2 separate regions of the Homo sapiens genome follow, and region 2 is linked to region 1. Evidence: promoter capture Hi-C in human tissues and cell types (Jung and others, 2019). All regions are on one chromosome and are shown on one strand. Each heading gives the region's core, a stretch centred on a gene start or on the middle of the fragment in contact. The rest is flanking DNA. Distances are from core to core; before and after follow the strand shown. Region 1 has its middle 7.6 kb from the start of OR7E24. Region 2 holds the start of ZNF559 (zinc finger protein 559).

Region 1 (6,216 bases), core at 789-3,288:
ATGTCTCTTCACTCTATAGATTGTTTCTTTTGCTGTGTGGGAACTTTTTAGCCTGATGCAATCTCATTTTTCTGTTTTTGCCTTTGTTGCTTGTGTTTTGGGTTCTTATCCAAAAAATCATTGCCCAGTGTAATTTCATGGAGGATTATTCCTATGTTTTCTTTTAGTGGTTTTGCATTTTCAGGTTTACTGAGACCTGAGATGAGGAGCTAATTTCATTCCTCTGCATGTGGTTTTCCAGTTTTCCCAGCACCATTTATGGAAGAGACTGTCCTTTCCCCACTGTGTGTTCTCGGCATCTTTGTCAAAAAATGATTTGCCATAAATTCATTGATTCATTTCTGCACCACCTCTTCTGTTCCATTGTCCTTTGTATCTGTGTTTCTATTGGTACCATGCTCCATTTTCTTAACAGAACATTTTGATAGAGAAAAGTTTTAAAATTTGATGAAGTTCAATATATCTATTTTTTTGTTTTGTTACTCATGCTTTCACTGTTGTATCTAACAATCTGCTTCCAAATAAAGTGTAATCAAGATATTCCTGTATGTTTTTTTCTAAGAGTTTTATGATTTTAGCTACATTATATTTAAGCTATTGACTTTTTATTTATTTATTTATTTTGAGACACAGTCTCTCTCTGTCACCCAGGCTGGAGTGCAGAGGTGTGATCTCGGCTCTCTGCAACCTCTGCCTCCCGGGTTCAAGTGATTCTCCTGCCTCAGCCTCCCAGGTAGCTGGGATTACAGGTGCCCGCCACCACGCCTGGCTAATTTTTGTATTTTTGATGGAGATGGGGTTTCACATGTTAGTCAGGCCGGTCTTGAACTCCTGACCTCAAGTGATCCACCCGCCTCGGCCACCCAAATGCTGGGATTACAGGCATGAGCCATTGCGCCAGGCCTGTTGATCTGTTTTTTATTTGATTTGATTTTTGTACATGGCAGAAAGTAGGGTTCAATCTACTTTCCTTTGCATCGAGTTTGTTCTTGGAAGGGTTTAGTTTGTTGTGCTGTGAAACACCTTATTAATAACATCCACTTGGCAGCAGAATGTGTTAGCCTAGGGTTCAATCTGTCTAAGTGGTGGTTGTCAGAGAGATCATTGGGTTTATAAAAAGGTCACAAAGGCAAGATTATGTTTGACAGAGCCCTGCTCATGAACATTCAGTTCCTCAGCAGACCAGCCTCTTGTCCATGACAGATCAAGGTCTCAGAACTAAGTGGATGTTGTAGGTCCATTAGGCAAATGTGAATTTAAATATCCCGGCTCGACCAGGCTTGGTGGCTCATGCTTGTAATCCCAGCACTTTGGGGGCTGAGGTGGGTGGATCACTTGAGGTCACGAGTTCAAGACCAGCCTGGCCAATGTGGTGAAACCCCATCTCTGCTAAAAATGCAAAATTAGCTGGGTGTGGTGGTGGGTGCCTGTAATCTCAGCTACTTGGGAGACTGAGGCAGGAGAATTGCTTGAATCTGGGAGGTAGAGGTTGCAGTGAGCTGAGATTGCGCCATTGCATTCCAGCCTGGGCGACAGAGTGAGACTTTGTCTCAAAAACAACAACTACAAAACTAAAAGAAAACAAGAAATAAATATCCTGGCTCTTTTTCTCCTGAAAATCACATGCTTCATTTTTACTCTTCCCAAAACACTTGTGATTTGGCTTTTGCTACATGTTTTTACTTTAGGTTCTCTCAGTAACTCCCTTGGTAATTTCCTTCTAACTTTTCCGTTTTATATACAGTCTTTAAAGTTCCATCTTTGGTCCATTTTCTTAGAGCCACTCTTGAGAGTTCTCACGTGTTGTTTGAAACACTTATCATATCGAGTGCTGATATGATGACATGCTTTCCTCAAAAATTACCCATTTGCATGTTAGCACCCTTCACCTAAACTTGGTTGTGTTCTTGTTTCCTCTGGAAGAAATTGGATGAAAATCATACAATAGTCAAGGCAACGTGTTTCCCTTTTAGGATTGTGCTTGTTGCTTTACATGTATGGCTTTATTTAATCCTGAAAACATTTCTTTCTTTTTGTTTTTGTTTTGTTTTGTTTTGAGACACAGTTTCACTCTGTCACCCAGGCTGGAGTGCCATGGCGCTATCTCAGCCCACGGCAACCACCTCCCGGGTTCAAGCAATTCTTGTGTCTCAGCCTCCCAAGTAGCTGGAATTATAAGTGTGCACCACCACACCTGGCTAATTTTTTTTGTATTTTTAGTAGAGATGGGGTTTTGCCATGTTGGCCAGGCTGATCTCAAACTCCTGACCTCAAGTGATCCACCTGCCTCGGCCTCCCAAAGTGCTGGGATTATAGGCATGAGCCACCACAGTTGGCCCTGAAAACATTTCTTTGACATGTCTTTTCTCATTCACCTTGTTCCACAAAGGAAGAAGCAGATAGAGGTGAACTATAACCTGGCAACTTGACGTTGAGACCACACTCCAACTTTGCTATCCTTTATTTCATAAGAACAGTGATGTGATTTTTCACATCAAATTAGGAATGTAGATTTGTAAGCTTGTTTGTTCTGATGATTCATAGTAATGAACTGCCTAGAATAACTGAGACGTTGCTTCCTTCTTTGTGATTATTCCTTTTCTTCCCTCCCTCCCTCCTTTTTTACTTTCTTCCTTTCCTCTTCTTTCTTCCCTCATTCCCTCCTCTTTCTTCCCTCATTCCCTCCTCTTTCTTCTCTCATTCCCTCCTTCCTTCTTGTCTTTCTTTCTTTCCTTCTTTATTTGACCTTTATTTCCCATAATTGCAGTTTTATGATCTAACCCCAGATTGTAGAACATGTAATAATTATACGATAGAAAAGATTTGTTCTCTCATATAGTTTAATTTTCTTCTGAGACTTTCTGGAGATGTCTTCAGGAATGGAAGCCACAGAATGTGGACTGTGTTTGGGATGCAGTTCACCCTTTTGATGAGAACTGGTAGAACTGGGTCTGCAGTGAAGGATGGGGTAGTAGATGGTGTCAGGGTTCATCCCACATCCCTAAGACCCTCCCGCCATCTCCACACACACCATCCTGTCTGCCAATGGTCAGCATCAGCTGAGGGATCCACTTTCCCCAATGCATGGTGGCAGAAAGGTAATGAATGCTTACAATTTTATGTTGCTCTGGCATTTTTTTTTTTTTTTTTGAGCCAGTGTCTCACAGTATTGTGCAGGCTGGAGTACAGTGGCTCACTGAAATCTTGAACTCCTGGGCTCAAGTGATCCTCCTCAGTCTCCCAAGTAGCTGGGACTACAGGCATGCATCATCACACCCAGTTAGGGGGTCTCTCTATGTGACTCAGGCTTGTCTTGAAATCCTGGCCTCAAACCAGGATTGGCCACCTTGGCTTCCTGAAGCACTGGGATTGTAGGTGTGAACCACTGCACCTGGCAGGCATCTATTTTGAATACAGGCTTAGCTTTCTGATGCTAGAGGCAGGGTTCCATTGCCTTTGACACAGTTTCCAATTCCACACCACCCTCAAATGGCTCAAGCTGGTGCAATTGTTGCTCCTTGCATCATCCTTTGAAAGTGCAAGTTGTAAAAGTTTATGGATTCACCTCAGAGGGTTTATCTGAGAAGTTGCCTCAAGCAGTTAGAAGATACAGCTTCCTGATGCAACTTCAGCTGCAGAGACCAGGGAAGGAGGGGAGGCCTTAGAGGCCTGAGACTTCTGCTGGCATCCTTCTCACCAGGCTGCCTCCTCCCGGGAGAGTCCCTCCTTCAGCCCCAGTCCCTGTGCAGGAGCCTGGTTTCTGGAAAAGGCCCCACAGCCTGGTGGACACAGACCCAATTCCAGTATCAGACCCATCAGTGACCACTGTGTTGGGATTCAACAGCCTCTCCAGACTGTGATTCTCACTGGCAAAATAAAAAATCTGTCTGTCTTTATTTGATCAGGAGTACTAAGGCTCCAATGAGACAGTGTATTTGAAAAACCTTGGGAATCCACTCTCCAAAGCCTAGCAGGTTTTGTTACTATTATCCAACTCAATGTACAATTCTAAGGTAAATTGAAAAAATGTATAAATCCATTAAAAAGAAAAGTTGAAGGTCTCACATTTCCTGGTTTCCAAATAAACTACAAAGATCCAGGAATTAAAACAGTGTGGTACTATAATACATAAAGACACATATACAGAAAAATGGAAGAGTAAAGAGAGCCCAGAAAGAAACTCTCACTTATATGGTCACATGATTTTCCACATGGGTGCCAAGAACATTCATTGGGAAAAAGACAGCCTTTTCAACAAACGGTGTAGGAAAAACTTGATTTCAAAATGCAGAAGAATGAAGGTGGGTTCTTACCTTACACCATATGCAAAAGTTAACACAAAATGGATCAAAGGCCTAAACCTAAATTCCAAACCTATAAAATTCTTAAAGAAAACATTGATCAATACCTTCATGACATTGGATTTGGTAATGATTTGATCAATACCTTCATGACACTGGATTTCTTAGTGATTTCTTGAATATGTCACCAAAAGCACAGACAACAATATATAGATAACTTGGACTACATCAAAATTAAAAAACCTTTGTAACTCAAAGGATATACTATCATCAGAGTCAAAAGTTAACCCAGGGAATAGGAAAATATATCTGTAAATCATATATATATGCTTAGAGGCTAACAACCAAACAATATTAAGAACTCCTACAACTCAGCAACCAAACAAATGCCCATTAAAAATGGGCAGAAGGCCAGGTGTGGTGGCTTACACCTATAATCCCAGCACTCTGGGAGGCCAAGGCGGGCAGATCACCTGAGGTCAGGAGTTCAAGACCAGCCTGGCCAACATGGTGAAACTCCGTTTCTAGTAAAAATACAAAAAAATACAAAAAAAATTAGCGGGCGGGTGGCCTGCACCTATAGTCCCAGCTACTCAGGAGGCTGAGTCACGAGAATCGCTTGAACCCGGGTGGTGAAGTTTGCAGTGAGCCAAGATCATGCCACTGCATTCCAGCCTGGGTGACAGAGCAAGACTCCGTCTCAATAAAGAAAAAAAAAAATTGGGCAGAGGACTTGAATAGACATTTCTCTAAAGAACATATGCAAATGGCCAATGAGCATACAAAATGATACCCAGCATCACTCATCAATAGGGGCATGCAAATAAAAATCACAATGAGATACCACCCAATAGGATGGCTATTAAGAACAAACAAGCAAAAAAACCTGTCGAGTTTTGGTGAAACTGTAGGGAAGGAGGAATGCTTACACAGGGCTATGGAAATGTAAAATGGTGCAGCAGTATGAAAATCCATATGATGGTTCCTCATAAAATGAAAAATAGAACTACCATAGGATGCTGCAAGTTCACTTCTGGGTGCATACTTAAAAGGATCGAAAACAGGGATTTGAACAGATATTTGTATAACCATGTGTGGAGGAAAAGTTAAATATTAAATTCGAACTCAATTGAACATGGACACAAACAATGGTCAGCAAGTCCTCGAATGGGTCGTGTGAGCCCCTTGAGGCGTTCATCCAGCGCTGTTTCGGAGAAATCTCTATTTCAATCTATTCCTATACATTAGTTATTGAAAAACAATAGACAATCACGAAAACGAGTTGACCTTTTTGCGTTCCTTGGGCCCAGTCGTGAAGGGCCCTCGTGACTGGGCCTCATGCCAAACAACTCATTACAAAAAGAGTTAGGGTCCCAGACTGCGCCAAAGCTTCAGGAGACCTCTCCTTGTCTGTGCACGGACTGGTGGCTGACTCTGGAGCCCAGACTGTTGCTGGTGAATCCTTCATAGTCTGGTGAGTGTGTATATATATATTTTTTTTTCGCTTCGGCGACTTCCCGTTGCAATTTGCTTATTATATCAATGTGCTTTTTTTTTTTTTTTTTTTTTTTTTTTTTTATGGAGTCTTGCTCTGTCTCCCAGGCTGGAGTGCAGTGGCGCGATCTCAGCTCACTGCAACCTCCGCCTCCCAGGTTCAAGCGATTCTTCCGCTTCAGTCTCCCAAGTAGCTGGGATTACAGGCACGGGCCACCACACCCTTCTAATTTTTGTATTTTTAGTAGAGACAGGGTTTCACCGTGTTAGCCAGGATGGTCTCGATCTCCTGACCTCGTGATCTGCCTGCCTTGGCCTCCCAAAGTGCTGGGATTACAGGCATGAGCCACCGCGCCGGGCCTCAATTTGCTTATTATAGTAATTTGCTTATTATATCATTTGCTTATTATATCTACATTGC
Region 2 (6,142 bases), core at 1,732-4,231, 82 kb after region 1:
CAGATATTTAAGAATGTTAGTGAGAGGTGACAGTGTGCTGGCAGTCCTCACAGCCCTCGCTCGCTCTCGGCGCCTCCTCTGCCTGGGCTCCCACTTTGGCGGCACTTAAGGAGCCCTTTAGCCCACCGCTGCACTGTGGGAGCCCCTTTCTGGGCTGGCCAAGGCTGGATCCGGCTCCCCCAGCTTCACGGAGGTGTGGAGGGAGAGGCACTAGCGGGAACCAGGCTGCGCACGGTGCTTGCGGGCCAGCTGGAGTTCCGGGTGGGCGTGGGCTTGGCAGGCCTGCACTCGGAGCAGCCAGCCGTCCCTGCCCCGGGCAATGAGGGTCTTAGCACCCGGGCCAATGGCTGCGGAGGGTGTGCTGGGTGCCCCAGCAGGGCCAGCCCACTGGCGCTGAGCTCGATTTCTTGCGAGGCCTTAGCTGCCTTCCCGTGGGGCAGGGCTCGGGACCCGCAGCCTGCCATGCCTGAGCCTTCCCCGCCACCACGCCCTCCTCCCCCCCGCCCTCCTCTCCCCCCCGCCCTCCTCCCCCCTGCCACCCTCCTCCCCCACTCCTCCTCCCCTCCTCCCCCCGCCCTCCTCCCCCCCACCCTCCTCCCCACCCCCCTCCCCACCCCCACCCTCCTCTCCCCCTGCCCTACCCCCCGCTCCTTCCCCCTCCTACCCCCTCCTCCCCCGCCTCCTCCTCCGTGGGCTCCTGTGCAGCCGGAGCCTCCCCGACAAGTGCCGCCCCCTGCTCCACGGCACCCAATCCCGTCGACCACCCAAGGGCTGAGGAGTGCGGGCGCATGGCGCGGGACTGGCAGGCAGCTCCACCTGCAGCCCCAGTGCAAGATCCACTGGGTGAAGCCAGCTGGGCTCCTGAGTCTAGTGGGAACTTGGAGAACCTTTATGTCTAGCTAAAGTATTGTAAATACACCAATTGGCACTCTGTATCTAGCTCAAGGTTTGTAAACACACCAATCAGCACCCTGTGTCTAGCTCAGGGTTTGTGAATGCACCAATCAACACTCTGTATCTAGCTACTCTGGTGGGGACTTGGAGAACCTTTGTGTCGACACTCTGTAGCTAGCTAATCTAGTGGGGATGTGGAGAACCTTTGTGTCTAGCTCAGGGATTGTAAAGGCACCAATCAGCGCCCTGTCAAAACAGACCACTTGACTCTACCAGTCAGCAGGATGTGGGTGGGGCCACATAAGAGAATAAAAGCAGGCTGCCCCAGCCAGCAGTGGTAACCCGCTTTGATCCCCTTCCACGCCGTGGAAGCTTTGTTGTTTCACTCTTTGCAATAACTCTTGCTACTGCTCACTCTTTGGGTCCACACTGCTTTTATGAGCTGTAACACTCACCGCGAAGGTCTGCAGCTTCACTCCTGAAGCCAGCGAGACCACGAGCCCACCGGGAGAAATGAACAACTCCAGACGCGCCGCTTTAAGAGCTCTAACACTCACCGCGAAGGTCTGCAGCTTCACTCCTGAGCCAGCAAGACCACGAACCCACCAGAAGGAAGAAACTCCGAGCACATCCGAACATCAGAAGGAACAAACTCCAGACGTGCCACCTTAAGATCTGTAACACTCACCACGAGGGTCCCCGGCTTCATTCTTGGAGTCGGTGAGACCAAGAACCCACCAATTCCGGACACATTAGTACAGGTCTTTGAATAAATTTTGCTTCTAACAGAAGTTACTATTTATTCCTAATTAGATGGGCAGGAAAGTCTTTGAAGAGGAACCTCTACTTTACTTTTTACTGTAGAGAGAGTAGTCTTTGATCTTGGGGAGATGGGGTTTTTCCTTTTGGTTTAGCTTCAGGAAGTTTGTGTTAATTGGCCTTAGGTGCCCTGCCCCCAGCCCCAGGTGTTTTTCCTTTGATTTAACTTTAGGAAATTATCACGAATTGGCCTTAGATTCCCCGACCCCAGATCTTGGTGTTTTCACTTTTAGGAAGTCCGCATGAATCTTATCTATGCTCTTAACTACGTCCTAATTTTTGTGTTTTTTGTCTTTTTTATAGGAATAGGGTTTTGCCATATTGCCCAGGCTGGTCTCGAACTCCTGAGCTCAAGTGGTCTGCCTGCCTCAGCCTCCCAAAGTGCTGGGATCACTGGCGTGAGCCATCAGGCCCAGCCTCTATGTGCTAATTTTTGAACAAATTCCAATAGGAGCATTCTAGTCTCTGAGTGTGAGATGACCAAAAATCAAGCCCTTGTGAGGCTGAATAGAGTCGGGAGGCAGGGAACTTAAGGCTGTTTCAGGCCGACTTCCTAGAACTAAATTGAAAGGAAAACCCTCACTTTCCTCGCCTAAATAACAAAAGGACCAGAGGCTACTCCCTTTGACCTTTTCTGCTGGCAGATAGGAAATTGGCTGTCTGCAACAAATCAGACTGATGGCCGGTTGAGTCTTCATTTGCATAGAAGTGTAACTTTGTAACGTCGTAACTTCACCCTAGCCTTTGATTGGTTGCTTTTTGCAACCAATCAGATGTTTGCACAGGAGTGTGACCTTTGTAACTTCAGACTCTGGTTGGCTGCTTTCTGCAACCAATCAGACTGAACGCGGGCTACCGCTTCATTTACAGGAGGTGAGCATGAAGTGGCCAATGGGAAAATTCTAGGAGGTATTGGGACTCATGAAGGTTCTGTTTCGGAGCCCTTGAGCTGCCGCTTGGCCAGTTCCCACACTGTGGAGTATGCTTTCGTTTTCAACAAATCCCAGCTCTTGTTCTTTTGTTGCTTCATTCTTTCTTTGCTTTGCTGGGCGTTTTGTCTAATTCTTTGTTCAAAACGCCAGTAACCTGGACAGCTTGCAGTCAAGACCCCCTACCGGTGACACTTGCGCTCTTCGGGGAGGTAAACAGCATTTCCTCTCAGCTCTGGGTTGGAAAAAGCCGCAGCAGCTGATGGGCCCGGGAACCCGAGGCCCCGCCCCCTAGGTGGTCCTAGCCTTTGCGCGTGCGCGGCGTGTCTGCGTGGGCGCATGCGCATAACGGCCGCCATCTTAACAGCGCGTTCCCGTTGGCGTCTGAGGTAAGTTTTTGTTTCTGGGCGGCGTTCGGTGGTGTCCCGGTGCAGCCACGCGAGAGTAGAAGGGTGGAAAGGGGAGGTGCCCAGTGAAATGGAGCCTGTCCCGTGCACTTTCGGGCATTTCGAGCATCTTGTGGGCTCTCCCAAGTCGCGGCCCCTCCTCTGAGAGCCACAGTCAGGTCTGTCCTCAGGGGTCGAGGCGGCTGCGCTGGGGCCTCGGCCCGGGAGGAGGCGGGGGGCACGGCCTTTCCATTTTCCCTGCTCCCCTCTGCAGAAGCCTCATAGGGCCCGGCGCGGCGGCTCACGCCTGTCATTCCCAGCGCTTTGGGCGGATTGGGTAGGAGGATTACTTGAGGCCAGGAGTTCAAGACCAGGCAGGGCAACATAGGGAGACCCCCCCCCCCAACCATCTCTAATGGAAAAAAAAAAAAAAGTCTCCACATCCAGCGTTGTGCCTTTTCTCTATAAGGAACAGCATCTCTGCCTTCCTGTTCACGGTGACCTTCGCTTGGTGTCCTCCTGGCCTCAGCAACCTGACAATTCTGTCGTGTCCCGGTGAGCACTTCATGCACTTGTTCTGGCTGTGGGTGTCGGGTCTTGAAGTTTAAGTTGTGTCGAGGTGGAAAGAAACCTTTTCAGGTGGTTGTTCGAGAGCACATGGATCTGATACCATCGAATGCATGAGTGGATGAATGCACATAACTGTAAAATTTACCACCAAGGAAAAACACAGGACTACTCAACTGTGGTTCCAGGCCATCACCTAGATCTCACTCTAGCGCCCTGTAGATTCCCCCAGAGGTTCAAAACGAGGGCATCCCCAGGAACACGGTGCGGGCTGATTTACTAGCAGGAGGGATTGAATTGATAATGAATGCGAAGATAACTTTTGACAGGTGGGTTTTCTACCAGTTACTCATTTGAAAGTCTTACTGAGGGCGGGGCAAGGTGGCTCACACCTGTAATCCCAGCGTTTTGGGAGGCTGAGGCTGGAGGATCGCTTGAGCCCAGGAATTTGATGCCAACCTGGAAAAAATAGGGCAAGCCTCTGTCTCTACTAAAAATAAAAAATTAGCTGGGCATGGTGGTGTCTGTGGTCCCATCCACTTTGGAGGCCGAGATGCGAGGATCACTTGAGCATGGGAGGTCGAGGCTGCTGTGAGCCATTATTGTGTCACTGCATTCCAGCTTAGGCAACAGAGTGAGACCCTGTTTCAAAAAGAAGAAAAAAAAACAAATACTGATCTAGAGAACATCTGTAGCTCGAGTAAAACAAATGTCTTTAGTCCAGGTGTGGTGGCTCACGCCTGTAATCCCAGCATGTTGGGAGGCTGAGGCTGGCGGATCACGAGGTCAGGAGTTTGAGACCAGCCTGGCCAACATAGTGAAACCCCGTCTTTACTCAAAATACAAAAAATTAGCCGGGCGTGGGCACCTGTAATCCCAGCTACTCAGGAGCCTGAGGCAGGAGAATCGCTTGAACCTGGGAGGCAGAGGTTGCAGTGAGCCAAGATTGCACCCTTGCATTCCAGCCTGGGCAACAGTGCGAGACTCCGTCTCCAAAAAAAAAAAAAAAAGTCTTTAACCCTTAACTACATTCACTAGTTGTTAAGATTTGTTTCATTTTTTTGTATATGTACTTTATCATGAGCCATTTAAATTGGAAGTGAATGAACTTTCCCCTTTTAAGCGTGTATCTCAAATACCTCCTGAAAGTGAAGACAAGCTTAAAACAAGACTTCATTGTCCATCCCCACCCCCAAATCAAATCAGATTTCCCCAGCTGTCCAAAAGTCACCATAGTCACCATTATAGTTGCCAGGTTGTTTGCATGTTTTTAGATCTGTTAAATCTGTTTTTTAACTAGACTATTCACCTGATTTTTTTTTTTTTTTTTTTTTTTTTTGAGACGGAGTCTGTCTGTCCCAGGCTGGAGTGCAGTGGTGTGATCTCAGCTCACTGCAACCTCTGCCTCCTGCGTTCAAGCGATTCTCCTGACTCAGCCTCCCAAGTAGCTGGAATTACAGGCGTGTGCCACCACGCCCGGCTAATTGTATTTTTAGTAGAGACAGGGTTTCACCGTGTTGGCCAGGCTGGTCTCGAACTCCTGACCTCGTGATCTGCCGGCCTTGGCCTCCCAAAGTACTGCGTGAACCACCATGCCCCGCCATTCACCTGAATTTTTAAAAATAAAATTTTGGCCTTTGAAGATTTCAGGAGCATTATCTTGTAAAATGCTGCCGTTCTCATGCAATGATGTTTTCCTGTGATTTTATTTGATTTACCTATGTCCTGTATTTCTTGTAAAGTGGATGTTGGGGTTACAGTGGTACTGTCTAATACAAATATAATGCAAGGCACAGATGTAATTTTTAAAAATTTTAGTAGCCAAATTAGAAAATGTTAAATGTATGTGTGATATCATTTTTAATATATTAAAAATGCAGCATATCCAGTTATCAATATAAGTTTTTGAAATTAGTGACTAATGTAGTCAGTTTAAAACTGAGACATTTCACACTTCTTTTGTACTAAGTCTTTGGAATCCTGCACGTATTTTACACTTACAGCTAATTTTCATTGGAAATTCTTGATCTGTATTTAGAGTTTATAAAATTAACTATTGAAAAAGTAGATTAACAAACCCAGGTTGTTCCAAACATACTTAAAAGTTTTTCAATAACAATTTTATTTTTAAAGTTGAATTAAAAGTAAATAAAATTAAGAATTCATTTCCTCAGTTGCACTAGCCACATGGGGCTAGTGGCTGTTGAGTTAGACTGGCCAGATCCAAGGCTTCCATTTTCTAGGTAATGTACTGGGCTTCATATTATATCCTATCAGTAGTCACATACTACAAGTTTGTTAGTGATACTACGCATTTGGTCAAGGTACTCATCTCTGTATAGTCATGTTTTTCTTATAGTAATCTATAAGTGATACTTTGGCTACAGGGGAATATTCTGTTCCCCAACAGCCTTTCACCCAGTGGTTTTTTTGGTTTTGTTTTGTTTTGTTTTTTTTTGTTTTTGTTTTTGTTTTGACGGAGTCTCACTCTGCCGCCCAGGCTGGAGTACAGTGGCGTGATCTTGGCTCACTGCAACCTCCGCCTCC

What was found. Contacts are between HindIII fragments. The study calls those that stand out against the background at their distance.
Region 2: a contact is called between the fragment with the promoter of ZNF559 here and a fragment that was not itself captured in region 1, in 6 of the 25 tissues and cell types used here (H1 embryonic stem cells, mesendoderm cells, pancreas and 3 more).

The regions. Positions count from the first base shown.
Region 1 is chr19:9,240,212-9,246,427 of GRCh38, forward strand. It overlaps a transcript of OR7E24 not described here. Among named protein-coding and RNA genes, the nearest start is that of OR7E24, 7.6 kb to the right of the region's middle. The HindIII fragment of the contact is 9,125 bases long and covers 1-6,216 here.
Region 2 is chr19:9,321,198-9,327,339 of GRCh38, forward strand. ZNF559 (zinc finger protein 559) reads left to right here and starts at 2,982. Exons shown (of 7, transcript NM_032497.3): 1 at 2,982-3,031; 2 at 3,498-3,583. It overlaps ZNF559-ZNF177 (ZNF559-ZNF177 readthrough), which reads left to right and starts at 2,982. Exons shown (of 13, transcript NM_001384659.1): 1 at 2,982-3,031; 2 at 3,498-3,583. RefSeq lists an enhancer at 2,826-3,075 and a silencer at 3,246-3,385. The HindIII fragment of the contact is 8,356 bases long and covers 1-6,142 here.